3 separate regions of the Homo sapiens genome follow, and regions 1 and 2 are each linked to region 3. Evidence: promoter capture Hi-C in human tissues and cell types (Jung and others, 2019). All regions are on one chromosome and are shown on one strand. The core of a region is centred on a gene start or on the middle of the fragment in contact, and the rest is flanking DNA. Distances in the headings are between cores, read along the strand shown.

Region 1 (4,503 bases), core at 941-3,440, 120 kb after region 3:
TTTGAGGATTTCCTGCTCTTCATTTCTTGGGGTTCCAAGCTTTCATCATGTCAGTGACCACATCTCATTTCCCCTCTGTGCATAAAATTTGTTGAAATCTCTATAATTGGAGGTTGTTATTTTGAAGGTGGTGGGGGTGGGGGCAAATGGGAAGAGGGGGTGCCAAGGGCACTTCTGGAGAATACAAGGGAACCCCCCAGGAGCTGGGCTCATCAGGGGAAGTAGAGAAGATCTCTGGGTGTCTCTGGGAAATTTTACAATCTCTTCCCCATTGTCTTGCTTTCTCATCATTGAAAAATTGCTCAGAATGCAATAAAAACAAGGTGTTCTAATTAAACAGATTTGTTTACATGTTGTGGCATGAAAAACTAATTCAATCTGATATACTGTACATTCCTGCTGTACTTTTTTCCTTCCTTTATATAAAACTGCCCATTTTTAAACAGTATTGTACTTAAGCATCTTAAAGAGTATCCTTGATTAACAGAAAGGAAGCAATTTTCTACTCCCTACAGCTTTCAAAGGATTGTGTCAATAAGGAGAGAAAGAGAGCAGTTGTGGGTGGGAGTTCTTGTGATATTCACCTGGACATTTCTTATGATGGTTCTGGCCATTTAATGTGTGCTGTACCACCAGACTGGACCCTTAGGTGGACTTTGTGCCATGACTGAAACACAGAGGCCCAGAGTGCTGGGAGAATCTAAGGCTGGAGCAGACGTGGGGTCTTGTTCTGAGAAAGAGTAGAGGCTGTCATCACAGATCCTCCCAGGAGGGTGGCGGTCCCAGCATCCTTGTGGAGTCCTGGGAGAGAATCCACAGAGAGGAATGGGTGTGGAGAGATTGACAGGCATGATCATAATCATGATGGTTTTCATCACAAAAACGTTGTGTGGGAATGATTTCAGTTGTTGTATAATAGAAATTCTTTTTTTTTTTTTTTTTTTTTTGAGACAGAGTTTTGCTCTTGTCACCTAGGCTGGAGTGCAATGGCATGATCTTGGTTCACTGCAGCCTCCACCTCCTGGGTTCAAGCGATTCTCCTGCCTCAGCCTCCCGAGTAGCTGGGATTACAAGCATGTGCCACCAAGCCCAGCTAATTTTTGTATTTTTAGTAGAGACAGAGTTTGACCACATTGGCCAGGCTGGTCTCGAACTCCTGACCTCAGGTGATCCACCTGCCTTGGTCTCCCAAAATGCTGGGATTACAGGCCTGAGCCATTGCGTCTGGCCAGAAATTCTATCAATTAAAATTGTCCAAGAGTGGATGAAGATGACTTTATCTGGGGATGTTGGAGTAGAAGCTAGCCTACCATAATTCCAGAATTCTCTGGAAGGAATCTTTGTGTGGGGTAAGAAGTCTGGCTAGTTTATCATCACTTTTAGATTTTCAGAGCTGGAAGTAACCCTACAGCTTCTGGAGAGCAGGGACTCTCCCTAATCTCCAGATCCCCTGTGCCTTGTGCAGTACTGGGGCAGGAGGTGTTGATATTTGTGATGTGAATTGGGAGAGTTAGCAATGCTGTCTCCTCAATGTTCTGGACACCAGCCTTGCTTATTCTGACGTCCTGTCTTCATTCACGCTGTTGCCTTCACTTGGGAACCTTTCTCCATCCACTCATCTTGTTGAAACATAGCCTACCCTTTGAGCCCCTCAGATTCACCACTCCCCTGACCTCTGCTCTCTGTGCATTCATTCTCCACTTATGACCAGTTCTGTGTTGTTTAGCCTGCCCTTTGATGATTCTCCTTGGTGATTGCCTTTTGACACAGTCCTGTCCCTCAGCTGGAGTATGTCCTCTTCTCGGGTCTTTCAGCAGTACCCTGTATTGTTCTGGGGAGACACATGTGGTCAGTAAGGACATCCCCGCTGATGAGTAGGTATTTGAGAATTCTTTCTTCCCCGCTTCCACCTCTCCTTTCCTATTTTTTTTTTCCAATTCATTCTTCATTCCATGAGTGTTTAATGGTCTCAGCCTAAAGTCCCGTGGAGACCAACATGTTCATGCTGTTACATTGCTAGTAGAGAGCACCAGCCCTGAGTGTTAATGTGGGGTTTGGGGAGAGGAAGCATTTGGATCTGGGATATGGCAGCAGCCCATCAGCTTGGCGAGCCTCTGCTAGGGTTTGGAGACCTTGCTTTTTTACTTAGCTCTTCCCTTGCTCTTTTCTGCCCTGCTGCACTCTCCACATCCAGAGGCCCTCCCCCTAAGTAATCCCAATAGAAATGTCTTGGACTGGTGCTTGAGATAAGGGCAGGGAGAAAAGCCTGGAATTAGACTCTCTTTGAAGGAAATATGTATCTCCTGGACCTCACTGGGCTATAACTGAAGAATGGGACAGAGATTTCAAAACTAAAGGCCAGGAAGAAGAAAATGTATGAAAGACACCAAACATATTCTCCCAGTTCACCTACAACACTCCTCTCTGCATGTAGATCTAGAGAGGCTTTCCTTTTTGGCATCCCTGATTCTCATGCCCATGTATTTAATGGTGGGATTGATGTATTTCTTTAAAAATCATTCATTGATATTCTACTAAGTGCTGAAAATTTAACCTGTAATTCAAGAAATGAATGTTTGGCCCAACTTCAAATCCCACTCTTCTCCTACCAAGCCCATTCAGTCTACCTCAGCCAGGTTTCTCACCAACCACCATCTTCCATTGGTCTCACTCACACCTTTATCCTGCCTTCAAACACTGGCTCCTGATGTGATGGTTTTCATCCCTGTCTACTCAGATCCATCTATAATTCAGAGTCCCCCATGCCTCATATCTCCCATGGCTCTCCAGATCCACTCCCCATCTGTCCTCTGCCCTCTAACCTGCAGGATATCCTGTATGAATTATGTCAATGGGCATGTGAGCCCCTTGGCTTCTGGCTTCTTGGGCCAATAAGGAGGGACTTCAGTGGGGATAAAGTATTTCCCCGCTTCATTCCCTGCTGTGGGATCACCTCCATCTGCCACTGTAAGGTCCCTGCCTTCTCTGTGGTCTGCCCTACATGAGGACCTCTCCCTTTCTGAGTCAGTAGCTTCTCCCTCTCCTTCTCCCTTCAGCCTGAAGCTGGCCACAACTCCACTGCTACTGTCCCTGTGTTCCTGCACTAGCTCTTCTGCTTCCTCTTCACCCTGCCTGCCCCATGGTAATAAACTCTCTGTAAAGAAGCTCTCCTAATTTGAATGTTTTATTCTTTCCTGGAGAGTCCCTGACATATGGCTCCCCATATCTATCCCCCATTTTGTTTTGGAACTTATGTAAATCTTATCTTTGGCACACAATCTGGTAATGTTTTCTGAATTAATTTAAAAAATAATTTTAATGCTTATAGATCCCCTGCCTCTCCTGCTAGATTATGACCTCTTCAGCAGAAGGCCTGGGTAATTTTTTTCTTCCTATCTTGTATCTCTTCTAGAACTTGATAGCAAGTAGGTGCTCAAACAAGTACCTGTTTATGGACAGATGAACCATTACATTAGCAAGGTCAGGGCGGAGGGGCATGGGCTTAGAGTTCAAGTTCAAATGATAGGGTTCAAACGTGGCCTTCTTTTTCAGGGGACTGTGCCACCTTAACAAAATCATTGTTCTTTCTAAATCTCAAATTCTTTCTCTCAAAATTGGCATAATATAAGCTACTGCATGGCTCCATATTTCATTTTAATTTTGTAAAATGTGTGGTTGTGATAGTGGTTTTCTGAGGCCTTAATAAAATCTGATTTAAGAAAGCTTACTCTATTTTATATATATTGAATCTGAAGATATAATTTGAGGTCCAATATTGAAAATTTATAAGTCAATTAAAAATCTAAAAATGAGTACAATTTTGTGACTTATAAGATGTTTCAGTCAATGATGGACCGCATATGTGATGGTGGTCCTATAAGAGTATAATGGAGCTGAAAATTTCATTTAAAAATAATTTTAATACTTACATTTCTCTTGCTTCTCCTGCTAGGTCATGACCTCTTGAAAAGGTTTGGATGATTAATATTTTTTTTTTATCTTGTCACAGGGCCATGAAGCATTACTCATGTATTTGTGGTGATGCTGGTGTAAAGAAACCCACTGTGCTGCCAATTGTGTAAAAGTCTAGCACAGTTTTGTACAGAATGTAATACTTGATAACAATAAGTGACTATATTACTGGTTTATATATTCACTACACTATGCTTTTTATTGTTTTCTTAGAGTGTGCTCCTTCTACTTATTAAAAAAAGTTAACTGTAAAACTGTCTCAGGCAGGTCCTTCAGGAGGTATTTGAGAAGAAGGCATTGTTGTCATAGGAGATGACAGCTCCATGTGTGTTACTGCCCCTGAAGACCTCCCAGTAGGACAAGATGTGGAGGGGGAAGACGGTGATATTGATGATTCTGACCCTGTGTAGGCCTAGGTGAATGTATGTGTTTGTGTCTTAGTTTTTAACAAAGAAGTTTAAGAAGTAAAAGAAAAAAATTTTATAATAGAAAAGAGCTTATGGAATAGGGATATAAAGAAAGAAAATATTT
Region 2 (4,097 bases), core at 251-2,750, 81 kb before region 3:
TTTCAGAAAAATGCCACTGGATCTCCCAGTATGAAGGATTAGCACAGATTATGGGGAACAGTGTTAATTATGGGTGGAAAGGGGGCTGGCGCGTCGCTCCAATGTGCTCCTGATTTCCCCTGGGCCTTTCTGCCTGGTAATAAGCCTTCTTTAATCTGGCAGGCCCCTTGGTGAAATCAGCACCACGGACAGTGATATTGATTGCTTCTGAGAAACCATCACAGCTGCTCAACCAAATTACCTTTGATATGTGACCTTTAATGTAATTACTGCAACATCAAAGTATTTCTATAAATTATTAAAGAACTAATACACTCCATCATTTAGCTATTCTATTATATGTAAAATAAACAACCACAAGTTAATGTTAGATCCTCAACAATCCACACTTGCTACTGAAATACTCCCAATTCCCAGCCTCTCCCCTTTCAAAATCCTAAACCTCCCCCTCTCACCTTCTCTCTTTCTGTTTCCCCTTCTGATTCCGGCTTTTAGCCACCATGAAACTCCCTAGCAATCTCTCTCAAGCTGATGAAGGGCCTCCCATAACAATGTGGTATTTTCTATTCCATTTGGGTGGCTCTAAAATATCTGTCACAGTCTCCCCCAAAACAAAGTACCATAAACACTTTATTAATCAGCACAAACCTTTCTCAGAAGCCTTTGATTATCCTACAATATGGCTTTATGCTTCACACATAACATGGGGCGATGTGAGGCATATTTCTGCCGTCTTACAGAGGGCACCCAGAAAGTAATTACTATAATATATGTGCATGTAGCCGCGCAACTGAAAAAACAACTGGGGAATGGCCACCCTGCCAGAGCTGGGCTTCACACAAAATCTGTGCGGTGCTCGATTTCCATATATTTGCATCTGTGGGTATGTTATTAAGATGACTCAGCCCCGTGCTTTGCAATCACAAATACCAAAATACAATACAAAGGCTGTCTTAATGGAAGGAAGGCCCTGTGTAATTCAGCTCTCCCCACCCCTAAACGAGTAAAGAAAGATCTTCGATGCAAAGGAAGGCTGCCCCCGCCCGGGGTTGCATTTTCTCTCCGTCTACCTGGTTAACCTTTCCCGCTGTGGGGTAGAAATGGAAACGTGTGTTTACATACGGTTGGCTTGGTAAGAATGTAAACATGCATGTGTAAGCATGGGTGTGCATACTTATAGAACACATGTGCTTCCCTGCAGTGTCCATTGTATAAGCGTCAACACTATATTTAGAAAATCTTTAAATTATGCCCACAAACACACATCTTTCCATTTATCCTTAGATACTCAGCAGCCGTATATCTCTCCCCCCTCACCACCGCCCCATCTCTCTGAACCCACAGGAGAGACCGCGCAGACCCTTGACCCGAAGAATACTTCTTATTTTATGGTGATGAACTAGCCTCGATAATAGCCATGGCTGATATCACACCCAGTTAGGGGGGCCATAAATAATTCTCTTCTCCCCCGCACAGAAGCTATAAACCAGGGCCGAGGCGCGATAGTTTATCAAAGACGAGGGCTGGCTCCTTAAATAAACCGCGGTGATCTCACTTGCGGCGCCCCCTCCCACGCCGGCCCCCTCCTCCCCCACTAGAGCGGCCCGCGTCGACTCGATGGGCGGACTCGATCGCGCACGCGGCCCGCGGGCCCGGCGGAGGCAGCTCCCGCTCCGGGGACCCGGGACGCGCCGCTCCCCCGCCCCAGGCTGCCCGCGCAGGAACTTCACGGCCACGGCCAAGTGGGGCCCCTGTCCCGGATCCCGTTGGGCCCGGACGGCCGAGAGCCCAGGGATTTGGGGGGGCGCGCGGGCTCCCGAGCTCAGGCGGGGCGGCGGGCGCCCTGCCGTCCTCTCCCCGCGCGCCGCGCCGCCGCCCGGCCTCCCGAAGTCGCCCCCTGTCGGCGCGTCGGCCGCTTGCGCCACGGCGGGCGCCACTTACCCCGGGCAGAGTCTTCTGCTCGTGCAGCGCGCTCTGGGCCTTCAGCGCTGACTCACGCTCGCAGTAGGTGAGGAAGGCGCAGCCTGGGGAGGAAAGCAAGCGCCAAGAAGGGTCAGTGGGGCGCCCCCGGGCCCGCCGACGCGCCCTGCCGCCCGCCCTCCAGGCTCCCGCCCCTCCCTGCCGCTCGGTCCCTGTCCCCACCTCTCTTTCTCTCCCGTGCACTGTTCTCGGAGCTTCTCTGCCTCTCGGTGTTCCCGGCTGTCTGCCTCTCGTACCTCCCTTTGCTTTTCTATTTTGCTCCCTCCGCGGAGTCTCCCCACCCTGCATCTTCCCCCCACCACACCCCCCTCTCCTTACGGTTCTCTCCTTACCCCGTACCCTGGTGCCTCAGACCTCTCTGCCCTGTTTCAGCGCCAGCCCCTACGCTTCCTAGAAGGGGCAGCTTCCACCCCTCACCCCCAGCACCTCTAGCCACACTTGACCATGGGCTGTCTTTCTGGCCGGTAGGAGTGCTGGGCGCTGCTCCCTCAGGGATGGTGGAGGGCTCCTCTAAGCCTTACAAATAAAGGCTCAGTCTGTAAGGAGGACCCCAAGCCAGGCCCTCCTAATAAAATAAACGTACCCTGTGTCCCCTGTCCCAACCCCTGTTGTTTGATTTGCAGTGACAGATGGTCTTCACACCCCTCCAAGTCAGAGGGCTTCTAGGGCATATCCAGGCCACCGACTTACAGCACTAGACCACCCTTGCTCTGCCTTTAATTCCCTAGGTGACCTTAACAAATCACATCCTCTTTCTGGCCTCAGTCTCCCCACCTGCGAACTGAGAAGGCTCAGTCTAGCTCTCCCACTGATTAATTCTAACTGGGCCACACCCCACCTCCTCGCCAGGGAATCCGGATTTGACAGAAGAATATACTCAAGGGGTGACTTTTCAGTGCTGTCCTTTAGGTGTGGTGACAAGGCCAAGAGAGTGGGGATGGGGGAGTCTTTCTGGGAGTTCCCATAAGCTGTCCAGCATGCCCAGTGTCAGGCCTTCTTTCTCTGCCTGCAGATGTGGCTGAAGGTGGCTTGGGAGGCCTGCAAGGCTCAAAACCATGGGGAAAGCCCAAAAGCTCACTATGGCGGAAGCAGGCTTGAATGTTCTGGTGAACAGTCACCTCAGACCTTTTCAAGCCACCCATGGCCCCAGAGAAGGCACCCTGTGGAATGGCTGCCTCTCTTGTTCCTCTCTCTCTCACGTGATCTTATCCAAGGCCACATCCCCAACAACCTGTGTTCCCTTCTGCCCCCGCATTCCTCTGCTCTCACCACCTCCTCACCTGGTATACCCCTCTTCCCCATGTTCACTTCTCCGAAACCCATTGATCTTTCAAGAATCTGATCAAGTTCTACCTACTCCAGGCAGCCCTCCTTGGCTGGTCTAGTCCATCCCCAGCCAGTCTCCACAGCCAGCCATTTGGTCATTGCCATGGCCATTTATTTCCTGAGTGCTCGCTCTGTGCCAGGCTCTGTGCCAGACCTCGTGGCCCAAGCCCTCCTCTCATGAGGCCCACAGGCTGCTGGTGCCAGTATGGTACCTATGTCAGCCCTTGTCACCAGGCTTGCTTTAGACTCTGGTTGCCGGCCACAGAATGCTCCCGGTGTCCTCTGCAGCTCCTGACTCTTCCACCAACCAGCCTGTACCCAGTGAAAACCCCTTTCCTCCCCTTCCAATGTAGAAATTCCTGCCTCCCTTCCCTTTCTGGCTTCAGAGAGGAGGTGGAAAGGGAATGTATTTGTGAAAGGAACGGAGATGAAAGAAGGAAACAGGGAGAAAAGCCTGGGAGACAGAAACTCTCAGCTCCCAGTGCCCCCTCTGCCTTCCCCACCTCCAACTCCTGCCTCAGGCTTGGAGAAGCTTCGGAGAAATCTCTCTCCCTCTCTGTCTCATGTCTCCCTTCCTCCAGACCCCAGATCACTCCTCCTCCCTCTCCCGTCCTCCTCCCTCCTGGTCACTGGCAGACTGTTATTGATGGAGACACCCGGGGACTGAAATGAATAGCGGTCAGAGGCCCCCGTGACGTCGTCCCTCGTGCTGCCGCCTGCTTCTCCCGGGGGCGTCTTTCCTCCCGTCCCCTTGTTGGCCTTGTCCTCTGCCTGCAACCAGGAGGTGGCCA
Region 3 (4,233 bases), core at 90-2,589:
TTGATTATTCTGTCTCCCCCTCCCCCAAGCACTCACTGGCAATGATCGCTTCAAGGGAGAAATAATGTACTATAAAGCTCTCTGCATGGTGAGTTTGGGATAAATTAGGGTACACCTTTCAAAATGCAAATCTCGCACACACATATTTTTTTCCCAAAGCCCCGCTTTCCTGGGAAGGGGACTATCCAGGCTTGCCAGACCCCCCACTCCACCCAGGGGATGGCTGGTTCCTTGCTAATTCTTGCCTTAGGTTTTATCACTGGTTCCTTCAAACATCCAACCCCCCCACCCCCAACACACACCACCATTCACACCACAATCAGATTATTGAGGCACACAGCTCGACAGGGAGAGTTTACTGTTACATTTAAATAAAAATTTCTCTTTGAATTTGTCACCTCTCTCCCTTTTAGACGGCTGCGCTCCTGCTACTCTAGCCCGGAGCAAAGGATGAGGAGACCACCTCCTTTAGTATTTTCAGCACCACGGCGATGGACAGCACCCTCGGTCCTCGGCCGGCCAGGAGCCCGCGAGTCCGTCCGCTCAGCGTCCTGGGCTCGACCGGTGCAGCCTTCCCCATCCCCATCTTTCAGGTCGCTGTACCCAAAAATCCAAGCCCCGTCTCCTCGATCCCCTCTCTCTTTCTCTTCATCGGCGCCCGCTGCTCTCTCCATGGCATCGTTCCTATCAGCACCTCGCCCAAAACCCAGTCTTGCCCCAGCGAACAGCTCCCCACGCACCCCAGCTCTGGTCTCCGCTGCCCGAGCGCCTCCCTCCACCGCGCCCGCCCGAGGCTTCCTCTCGCTTAGTCCGCCGCTCGTCAGTCGCCGGCCGGCCGGTCGGCCCGCCAGCCCGCTCCTGCTCCCCGGCAAAGTTGGGAGGGAAAGGTGTACTCACCTTTGTGCATGCCTGTGAACCTGTCCTTCAGAACCGTAAGCTCGTAGATTTTGCCAAACTCCTCGAAGAGGGGCTTGAGGTCCTTCTCATCCAGGTTGCGGGGGATCTGCCCAATGAACAGCTTGATGGCATCGTGGTCCTTCATGGGAATGGTCGACGGGTTCCCCGGGCTGTGGCTTAATCCGTTCATGTGCCCGGCACTGCCCGGGCTGCTGCCGAGCCCGTTGGTACTGAGGCTTGCGTTGTCAGCCTGTCCGTTTGCTAACGTGGCCATCTTTATATACATAGAGAAAATCTTCTTTCCTTTTATTCTTTCTCGCTCACACTCTCTCGCTCCTCTCTCTCGCTCGCTCGCGCTCACACACGCACACGCATACACACACTCGGGTTCTCTCCCCCTCGGTTTCTCTACACCTCGCTCTCCGCTCGCTCTCTGCTCTCTCTCTTTCTCCTCTTCTCTCGCTCGCTCGCGCTCGCGCTCTCTCTCTGCTCTCCCCCCTCTCTCTCTCCCTCCCTCCCTCTCCTCTCTCTCTCCCTCTCTCTCTCCCTCTCTCTCTCCCTCTCTCCTCTCTCTCTCGGTCTGATCTGATTTTTTTTTTCTTTTTTTCTTTTTTTTTTTTTTTTTTTTTTTTTTACATTGAACAGACAGGATCTCTGTCCTTTCCGTTTAAACAGGCTGGACCGGTTCAAGTTCCCAGCCAGACCAGGGGTGGGGGTGGCGAGTGTGCGCGCGCGGAGGAGGGCGCGGGGGGCCGGGAATGGGCGCGCTGTGGGGGCCCGCGCCACGGCGGGCGGCGGCCGGGGGCAGGGCGGCGTGGGGCGGCGGCCACCGCGCCTCCCCCGTCGGCGGCCCCGCGCCGTGGCGATGGTACAGTCCGAGACGGCCCCCGGCTATAAATAGCGCCAGGCGCATGGCTCTTCGGGAGGCGCTGAGATTCCGGGCCCGGCGGCCGCGGGGAGCGGGTGTCCGTGAGGAGCCGGGCAGCCGGCCTCCTCTCTTTGCCTTTTGGGGGTTCTTTTTGTAATAGCAGCAGGTGCAACTTTTTGTATTTTAAAAATAGTGATTTTTATTTTCGTGTGGGTATGTAGGGGGGCTTTATCCACCAAGCTATGCTCTATTAGGGCGCCAGGCGGGCGAAGCAAAGGCAGGGATGGCGGGCGGGGCGGCGGCGGAGGTGGAATGGGCGCTTTTTTCTTCCATCTGGCTTTATTTATTTATTTAGACTAGAAAAGCGAGCCGGCTTGGAGGGAGTCCGCCCGGGGATCCGAGCGCGCATTCATCAGTGTCGAGAGAAAAAAAGCTACATAAATATATATTATGTGGATAAATCTATAGACAAGAGCTCTCTCGCGCGCGCTCTCTCCCTGTCTCTCTGTGTGTGTCTTTCTCTGTTTTTTTTTCCTCCTCGCACCCCCAACCTGCCAGAGCAGCCCCACATCTTCCTCCCGCCCGGCATCTACCGCCACCCAAGCCACCTGCCAGGATGGGGCTGGGAGCTGTCGGGCCGCGCCGGGGGGCAGAGGGACGGGGAGTAGAGACTCGGGGTCCGACCCCCGCCCCAACCCGCTTCCGAAGGCGGAAGGTGGGGGTCCCCGTCCCGGGCGGCCTCCCCCGCCCCGGAGAGCGCGGCTGGTCCCCCGGTGGCTGGCGGGAGGAAGGTAGGAGTCGGGCGCCCCTGCCCGCTCGCCCGCCGGAGGGGGAGGAAGGCGCTGGGCGCGGTGGCCGGTGAGCCAGCGCGGGGGATGGCTTGATTTGCCCTCGTCTGCTTTACGGGTTCAAATAGAATATATTTTTTTAATCACCATCAAAAGAATAAAGCCCCTGAATCGCTATCTGGGTTGCCGCCGGACCGAGACTCGCGCGGCGTGCGCTGCCCCCGCGGGTTTCGTTTTCGGCACCTACAGCTCCCGAGGTGCGAGGCTGAGTCGTTCCTGCCGTGGGGACCGGGGGTCGAGCCGCCCGGTCCGGACCCCGCCGGACTCCCCGCCAGGCCCACTGGGGCTGGCATCTCGGCTGCGCGGGAAAGGGAGTGGCAGGCGCGGAGCCGGGAGCAGGGTCCGAGCGGCCCCGCCTGTAGGGGTGAATACTGGTGGTGAACTTGGCTGGGGTAGCAGATTTTCACGTTAATGATATTTACCTGCACCCCGTCCTCTCTCATGTTTGCTTTTTCAGGGCAGCCTCTTCGCTTCAGAAGCCTGGCAAATTGAAATAACGCGCCCGCTCCCCCGCGGGCTGCGGGGCTGGGGAGCTGGGGCGGCGGGGCTGAGCGGCTGGCCTAACCCCCGCCGGCCCTCGGCTAGCCACTTTCGGGTTTCAGGGTTTCTCTTTTCTTGCCCTCGGATTACATTACGTTACTAGAGGATATGTCTGCAATTTTAATTAAAGAAATGAGACCCCAGCTGCCTGCAAACCCAGGCCAACCCCATTTGGTACAAGCACAATACGGAGCTCTCCAGCGCCGGAGGAGGCCCGGAGGCCCGAGGTTCGCAGCCCCAGGCCCCGAGTCCGCTCAGGACGCCTCTCTCTGAGGATCCCGGGCCCAAACCAAAGAGCAAGTATGATTTTTAGAACTGTGGAACTTCATCCTTTCATTTTAGCTTCTCCTGCCTTTGCTTGCCGGAATCGGGTGTAAGTATGGTTAATTCGTCACTTGGTTTACCGGGTTTACGTTATCCGGTGTTGTATGCTGGTCTAAGAATCGACCAAGTAGATGACTCGAACAGAAACTCACATATAGAGCCTTTGCCATGTGGTGGTTGTGTATTTGGTGTGCCTTTGAAGTGCCCTGATAAGGGGGGCAAGTCCCTGCTAAGCACTTGGAGAGTTTGTGTGTGTGGTTTGGCCGTGTGTGCCTGCTTGTGTGGATGCAGCGTGGGTCTCTGCACGGACCCTGCGTGTATCCACACTGCATATATGTGTGTGTCCATACCAGGTTGAGACCTCCTCCTTCTGGTCCCCTAGGACACATCAGCAGTGGCTATTAACTCTGTCCAAGATATCTCTTCCAACATCATCCTGTGGTGCTGGTGCATGGCACCCAGGATCCTACAGCTGAGTGGCATGTATTTTCTGCTATCACAGGGGAGTTTAGGAGAGTAAATTCCTGCTCGAGGTCTGTTTTTCTCTCCTTGCCTCTCAACCCCTGAAAGCAAAGCCCGGACATCGGAAAGGGAAAGGGGCCAGCTAAGGGCAGCTGGAAAAGAAGGGAACTGCTCAGGGGAGAGTCACTGAAGTTCACCCTCCTCTTCCTGCCACCACCCAAGGCACCCCTAGGTCCAAGTAAATTATTCACAGGGGGTTAATTACTCATGTTATTATTAATAATAGTCAATACA

Evidence for each region. The method cuts DNA at HindIII sites, captures the fragments that hold promoters and counts their contacts. A contact is called where the count stands out against the background at its distance.
Region 1: a fragment that was not itself captured here is called in contact with the fragment with the promoter of CELF4 in region 3 in 3 of the 25 tissues and cell types used here (H1 embryonic stem cells, liver and lymphoblastoid cells).
Region 2: a contact is called between a fragment that was not itself captured here and the fragment with the promoter of CELF4 in region 3, in 2 of the 25 tissues and cell types used here (H1 embryonic stem cells and dorsolateral prefrontal cortex).

The regions. Positions count from the first base shown.
Region 1 is chr18:37,686,018-37,690,520 of GRCh38, forward strand. No RefSeq gene overlaps it. Among named protein-coding and RNA genes, the nearest start is that of MIR4318, 31 kb to the left of the region's middle. The HindIII fragment of the contact is 5,790 bases long and covers 1-4,503 here.
Region 2 is chr18:37,483,584-37,487,680 of GRCh38, forward strand. It overlaps CELF4 (CUGBP Elav-like family member 4), which reads right to left. Exons shown (of 13, transcript NM_020180.4): 2 at 1,942-2,024. Among named protein-coding and RNA genes, the nearest start is that of SNORA111, 19 kb to the left of the region's middle. RefSeq lists an enhancer at 1-982. The HindIII fragment of the contact is 6,201 bases long and covers 1-4,097 here.
Region 3 is chr18:37,564,459-37,568,691 of GRCh38, forward strand. CELF4 (CUGBP Elav-like family member 4) reads right to left here and starts at 1,340. Exons shown (of 13, transcript NM_020180.4): 1 at 898-1,340. The coding sequence starts at 1,183. LOC124904288 (a long non-coding RNA gene) reads left to right here and starts at 1,819. Exons shown (of 2, transcript XR_007066345.1): 1 at 1,819-1,931; 2 at 2,121-2,230. RefSeq lists an enhancer at 884-1,387. The HindIII fragment of the contact is 29,207 bases long and covers 1-4,233 here.